Linked DNA regions of Homo sapiens: region 1 is linked to region 2. The links are contacts of gene promoters, found by promoter capture Hi-C in blood cells and fetal thymus (Javierre and others, 2016). All regions are on one chromosome and are shown on one strand. The core of a region is centred on a gene start or on the middle of the fragment in contact, and the rest is flanking DNA. Distances in the headings are between cores, read along the strand shown.

What was found. The method cuts DNA at HindIII sites, captures the fragments that hold promoters and counts their contacts. A CHiCAGO score of 5 or more calls a contact.
Region 1: a fragment that was not itself captured here is called in contact with the fragment with the promoter of GJB6 in region 2 in 9 of 17 cell types (M0 macrophages, naive CD4 T cells, fetal thymus and 6 more); the score reaches 13.3 in M0 macrophages.

What each region holds. Positions count from the first base shown.
Region 1 is chr13:20,486,375-20,489,806 of GRCh38, forward strand. It overlaps CRYL1 (crystallin lambda 1), which reads right to left. Exons shown (of 8, transcript NM_015974.3): 3 at 2,996-3,122. Among named protein-coding and RNA genes, the nearest start is that of CRYL1, 38 kb to the right of the region's middle. The HindIII fragment of the contact is 839 bases long and covers 1,764-2,602 here.
Region 2 is chr13:20,230,695-20,234,422 of GRCh38, forward strand. GJB6 (gap junction protein beta 6) reads right to left here and starts at 1,625. Exons shown (of 5, transcript NM_001110219.3): 1 at 1,500-1,625; 2 at 688-811; 3 at 4-113. The HindIII fragment of the contact is 2,257 bases long and covers 1,030-3,286 here.

The DNA.
Region 1 (3,432 bases), core at 933-3,432, 260 kb after region 2:
TTTCCAATGGGTCTGTAACGTGGCCTTAGAAACATCCTCAAAGGGACTTCTCATCTCATTCATCTCTTCCTCCCACACAATCCTCCCACCCCCACCCCAAAATCCACTTGTCAAAAGTCAAGACAAGCTCTAATCCTACCTGCATTAAACCTTCCCGAAGCCTCCCGGTCAGAACTATTCCTACCCACTCCTTTCTCTGGTACTGGAGGTACAACAATTTCTGAAGAATATAAACTCTCATAGGAATTAAACCTACTAGTTTACATCATCTTTCTCTAGTTTCCTCTCCTCATCCGGCTTGGCTCTGTGTTCTACATAATAGATATGGCTCAACATGTCATGCCTTGTAAATACACTCATTTAATCTATAAAATAAAGATAGACTGTAGTTAAAGAGCAGTTTTCACTAGTGCCAACCATGTACAGAACGCCATATACTGCCCCATGTCATTCTTTATTACCAAAATTGTTATAAATGGCCACATTATAAAATAATTACCATTTCCTGAGCATTTTCTGTGTGCCAAGTACTATGTAAGTGCTTTACATGCCTTCTAAATTCACATATTCCCCCCAAATTACTCTTTAACAGAAAAACTTGCCTTATTACCCAAGTCTATTATAATGTTCTCATATTATGGAGGGTTCACCACTTTATAAAAAACAATATACTCTTTGAGGGAGACACATTAACCAGAACTAATTCAGTTAGGGTAGTTTTGGATGTTTATAGAAATCATATGATAAACTATCAAAAAAATGGGATGGGGAGACAAAGAAATTTAACATGGATAGATGAATTATTCCTAGGGGATGACTTTACAATTGTTACTGCTAGGAAATTTATAAAGTAGCTATAGAAAGATTCTTTAAAAGAAAAAAAAAAGCACAGCAAGTTGCCATGCTATGGAATCACAAGTGTATTATTACAAAAGGAAAAAACATCTAAATGTTTGAGAATTAGTCTTTGAGGCTGGGGATAAAATTTGCAGTGCCAGCATTGTAGATGGGTTCAAAAAGCTCTGCATAGCAAACATCTCCAAGAGGCAAAGGTAACATGGTCTGGGAACTCTGTTCAGAGAGACTCAAAAAGTGATTGTAATGAAGACAAACATGCTGAAGTTGGAGATATCAGCCCAGAGTTTGAACAAAAGCATTCTGTGAAATGTGAAAGTAGAAATATTATAATAATAGATCACTTATTAATATTTCAATCACATTATATAACTAAATACTTTCCTTAAAAACTAAACTCACGGCTGGGAACAGTGGTTTATGCCTATAATCCAAGCTACTTGGGAGGCTGAGGCTCAAGAATCGCTTGAACCCAGGAGGCGGAGGTTGCAATGAGCCAAGATCACACTACTGAACTCCAGCCTGGGTGACAGAGCGAGACTCTATCTCAAAAAAAAACAAAAAACAAAAAGCAAAAAAAACTTAACTCATGCAGTTTACCGTGGCTCACGCCTGTAATCCCAGCACTTCGAGAGGCCAAGGCCAGCGGATCACTTGAGGTCAGGAGTTTGAGACCAGCCTGGCTAACATGGTGAAACCCTGTCTCTACTAAAACTGCAAAAATTAGCTGGGTGTGGTGGTGCACACTTGTAATCCCAGCCACTCCACAGGCTGAGACAGGAGAATCGCTTGAATCCAGGAAGTGGAGGCTGCAATGAGCCGAGATCACACCACTGCACTCCAGCCTGGGCCAACAGAGTGACTCTGTCTCAAAAAAATAAAAAATAAAACTAAATTCATGTGAAAGAAGCTTCTCTGCCAAGACCAGGCCTGGAGAGCATCTGTGCTCTTCAGAAGCAACTCTGCCAAGACCAGGCCTGGAGAACATCTGTGCTCTTCAGAAGCAACTCCTCTTATAGCACCTGCAACTACGGGTAGAAACAGGTGGCACTGGGAACTCATTAGGAGCCCTCAGGTCTCTTTAAAGTCCCTTCAACTTCATACAAACTTCACCATATCAAGAGATAGAGGATAATATATTAGAAAGAGATAAGAAGTTGAAAAACAGTCCTCTCCTTGTGTTCTGTTGTGACACACATTTGTTTAATGAATTTTTAGCAAATTGAGAATTTAACAATTTTAAGAAATTTTAGAGTCATAGAGACCTAAAATCTCCATCTTCTGTATTTGACCCGAATCTTAGAGCAGGAAATGACCAGAGAACACACACAGCCTTTTCGGTTTGCTTCCAAATTCTCAGCTAGAATATCAACAGAGTAACGACGTGAAATGTGCAAATCTCAGAACACAAAATATCAAGGAAAGATACTGGGAATAATGACTCTTTTAGCTTTAGGTAAATTTGCATAAACCTTATAGCAGTAAGTGCAGCCTTTGAAAAGACAAGGGTATGCCTCAGGATTCTTCAACAGGGCAGGGCCTGTGCGTGGGCACAGGAGCTCCAGGAGCGGGATGCCTGGAAAGAGGGCCAAGCCACAGGGGCTGCTCCCAGCTCCACCTGCAGGGACCACTCACCTCTCCAGGCTCATCCCGCTGTGCAAACAACCCTCATGAGGATTTCTCTTTTTTAAAGTAAAGTTGTTGGAAAGGCTACATGCAAGTGAAAGGTTTTCTTTTTGATGATGTAAGCTTTTGCTCAATTACATATGAGAACAATAATATAATCTGTCATTTGATAAGATGATAAAACAAAATAAAATAGTATTAGCAGTCCAGAAAACCTATTTTTGCTAAAACTGTTAATGCCTCTAAAATACAACATTGTCACCAGAATCCCTAGTGGCCTCACGGATAAGGCATTGGTCTCTTGAAACAGAACATTGTCACGCTAGTTTGATGAGAACCCAGGATAGAGGGTGTTTTGGGGATCACATTTCCTATCACATAAAACAAAATCCTGCCCTTGAAGATGCAAAATGCCCACACCTGCCACTGCTCTGTATCCTGCCCTGTTCCTCCGGAGAGGCTGGGAGACAATGTCTCAGGCCCCACAGATGCGGCGCCAGTGTCCTTCACTCACCTGAATGTGCATGGCACCCTCTACTGCTTCTTGGATATTGGGACAACCACTGATGAGTGACAGCTGCTCTTCCACACTCAGGGAGCCTTTCAGAGAACCTGCCTGCTCCAGCAACTTCATCTCCTTTCTGGAAAGGCAGAGAGAAGGATCACTGTGAGTATTCAACACCACATTTAAAAACAGATAAAGCCCAACATCAGGAATCATCAGGGAAATGCCAAGCAGAACCACAGTGAGATACCACCTCACACCCATTAGGGGCTACCAAAAATAGAAACTAGCAATTGTTGGCAAGGATGTGGAGAAACTGGAACCATTGTGCACTGCTGGTGAGACTGTAAAATGGTGCAACCGCTATGGAAAACAGATATGGCAGTTCCCAAAAACAGAATTACAGTATGATCCAGCAATTCAACTTCTGGGTATAAACCCAAAAT
Region 2 (3,728 bases), core at 375-2,874:
CACCTGGAATATTCAAATTGAATTAAAGATGCATGAAGAGGGCGTACAAGTTAGAATTTTTCTTTCGCCATACAGAAATTGTTTAGCCAGATCTTCTGTACTTCTTTTCCTTCCTAACACTCAGAATTCAGAAGAGAAGACATAAGAAAAAAAGCATAAAGTCATCATTACCTGTATCAGAATTTGTTTAAAAAACAACCAGTGGGGCAGGTGAACTGACCAGCGTCTTCCCAGCTTTAGTCACTGCAGTGGCAATGAGGCGCTCTCCACACCCCCAGTTATGTGACAGGCTAGAGCCCTGGTGTTCTCTCTTCAGAACCCCCCTCTCCTCCTTGGCAAGCTTCAAGCAACACCCCCAAAGACGCTGCTGGATCCAAACAACAGACAAAGCTCTCCACAGGAGCAGTTCTGAGCAGCACCCTGCAATTCTAAGGAGACTGCATGGGGGCAGGACATTTTCTTCTAGAACACTGGTTAGATTCTGCTAGAACTGGGGCAAGAAAATAGCTGTATGGCATAAAGTCTACTTGAGGGAAAAGAACAACCCGGCACGGTTACGTTCAATCAGACACTAAACAGAGTGCACGCCCACCCAGGGGACACTGAGGTCGCTGGGCCAGTGTCCCCGCCTGGTTGCAGGTCCCTAACCCCTCCGGGAGTGCAGAGCTGCGGGCAGGCCACACTCACCCTGACCCTTCCTGCTCCCCAGGAAGGGAGGTCAGCCCCGTTTGCAAAACACAGGATGCCCGTGACACCGGAGACAGGTCTTCTTCACCGACAGGAAGTGCCTTCTGGTGCCTGCACGTTTTAACTAAGATGTGTCGCCAATTACTTTTAATTACTGTCGTCCACGCTATTGTCATCAGCATTTCACAAGTTTCTCGGAAGCCCATCACGCAGCCCATACCCTGCGGTTCTCCGGGGACTTATGCATCGGCCCAAGTTGAGGGTTTGTCTGAACTGAAACCCGCATCCTAGACCTGGCTTTCTTCTCCCCAAATCCAAGGGGACACCCCGGTGACCCACAAAAGCTTAGAAAATCCAACACGCAGCAAATGAAACGGGGGAAAGGGGCACCGGCCCTCACTCTGGCCTCTTAGACACACGATATGAAACCTTCATAAAACCTGTTGTACAAGTCAAAGGGGACCACGCTGGGGTAAAAGTCAAACCAGTCCATCCTCGTTCCTCTGCGTACAGAGAGAGGGTCCAGCGCGGGCGGCGCCCACTGCCATCGGGCCGGGGCCGGGGCGCGTGGACAGGAGGGTGCGGATAGAGGCAGATCGGGGGCCCGGTCGCCCCACGTGCGGCCAGACACCCATCCCGGCCGCGCTCTGCCGGCTCTGATCCGGTGCCAGACAGGAGCGACAGGGGCGAGGTGGGGACCAGCCGCCGACCTCACCTGTTTTGTTTTCTTGGAGGAAATTCCTCCGCTGGGGGGCCGAGGTGGCACCGCCCGCTCGCCCCCCGCAAGACCCAGCCGGTCCGCGCCCGCTTACCTGCTCTGCGGCCGGCGGCCCTGGCGCGGGCTCTGCGCGGGGCGGCGCCCTTCGCTCCGGCTGGGCAGGCAGGTCGGGCTCGGGCGCCGCCGGCTGTCGGGCTCTCGTCGGGTTTCGGGTGAAGGCCCCGGCTCCCACCTGCTGCGCCTTTTAACCGCGCCCCACCCCGCCTCTGCCCTGACGCGGCTCGGGCGGGCTGCGGGAGGCGAGCGCTGTCACTCGACGAGCCCCCCGCCCCCACCTACCCGGGGCGCACTAGCCGCTGGGCGCGGACCGTCCCCCTGAGGAGCAAGGAGTGCAGGACCGGGGCTGTCCCTCCGGGGCCGGATGCGCAGAGCGGGGACCTTTTTCCCGTGGCGGGGGCGCAGGGTGGGGGACCCCTAAGAAGTGCACAGTGCGCGGGGCCCTCTTTCCGGCCCTTGGAGGGAACGGGGTACCGGGGATGCAGGGGGTAGGGCTCTCCCTCGGGAGCGCAGAGGGCGGGCCCAGCCCCCTCTGCACGGGTGCAGGTGTGGGGCGCCTGCTCAGGCCCTCGAGGGAACTCTTCCTCCCTAGTGCACCCGTGGGGAGCAGTGTGAGGGGCAGGCTGTGTTTTTGCCAGGACACATCCTCAGTCTTTCTGGGTGATCCAGCCTTCTCATAGCCCGCGGGGTGCACAGACCTCTCCTATAGGAGCCTGGAGGTTCTTTATTAATTAATGACCACTTAGAGGAGGTACAGGGGTTGTTTTTATTAATTACCTCCATCCTTTGAAGACTCCTCCGGGGAAGCGGAGCAGGCCTTCCTCGGGACAGTGCACCAGGAGAGACCACATTGCCTCCCCGCTTTTCAGTCAAGACTAGAAAGCTCAGGGCCAGTACAGGGAGTGGTGCAAGGGCTGGTGGGGTGGAAACGTTGGAAGCTATTTAGGCACCTGGCTTTACAGGTTCAAACCTGTCACGCATCGGACAAAAGATGTGTGACTTGCTTATTCTACAAAACTGTTCGGTAATTAAACGTCCCCACCTAAACCATATGCCACTTGTTGGGTCATATTCTCCCACGAAACAATTAAGATGTCTGTTAAAGGTCATGGAATTTGAGCCAAGACTTCATAAAAATCCGCTTTCCAAAATATTTTATTTGAGGAGAACAAGGTTCTTAAAGAATTTGCCCAAGTCAAGTTTTAAAAACTTTGGGGAGGCCCCTGAAATGGCCTTGAACTTGGAGAGTGGAGAGACACAGAAATCTCTAGGCTTTTTAAATTTATTTATTTATTTATTTATTTATTTATTTATTTATTTATTTTGACTAAGTCTGGCTCTGTTGCCCAGGCTGGAGTGTGGTGGTGTGATCTCAGCTCATTGCAACCTCTGCCTCCCGGGTTCAAGTGATTCTCCTGCCTCAGCTTCCCGAGTCGCTGGGATTACAGGCCCGCACCACCATGCCTGGCTAGGTTTTGTATTTTTAGTAGAGCTGGGTTTCACCATGTTGGCCAGGCTGGTCTGGAGCTCCTGACCTCAGGTGATCCACCTGCCTCAGCCTCCCAAAGTGCTGGGATTACAGGCGTGAGCCACCGCGCCGAGCATCTCTAGGCTTTTTTGTTAGACATCCTCACACTGCCCAGATGTGCCCTATGCGGTAAATCTTGGGTGCTCTGTCCTGCCCCACACAATCTAACTGTGGACTTCCCAGTCTTCTCTCCATTCCTCTCCCAAACAGATGCTTCAGCCAGGCTCAGCTGTTTGCATAGTAAAATAATTTTTCTAAGCAGATTGTAAACTTCTTTGGGGATTATAAACAGTTTAAGCTTTTCTTCCTCTTCTTCTTCTTTTGCATTTCTACAATACTAAGTACTTTGCTCATAGTATGTGCTGCTCCATGAGTATTTGAATATTGCTTGGCAAAGCTGAACCAGCATAGCAGATAGTCCTGGAAATAGCTTTTGCTTTTTCTAAAGCATGCCCTGTTCTCAATCCTGCACCTGATTCCATGCAGTACTGTGTCTGAGCATTGACATCCTGGACCAGTGGAAATTGTTCTAGGACTGGTGCAGGATAGAACTTTCAAACCAAAGTTGTCACAGAGAATGTGTTGCATTTGCTCATGTGTGCAAAAATGAAACCATCTCATCACTGTGTAAAATATCTCTTTTTCTGTTCAGGTTATCTATATTAGTCTGCATGGCCTTAACATTGAACACTGTCCTTCAGTTTTTGCTACTCATCAGACAGTCTTGTTGCAGCAGAA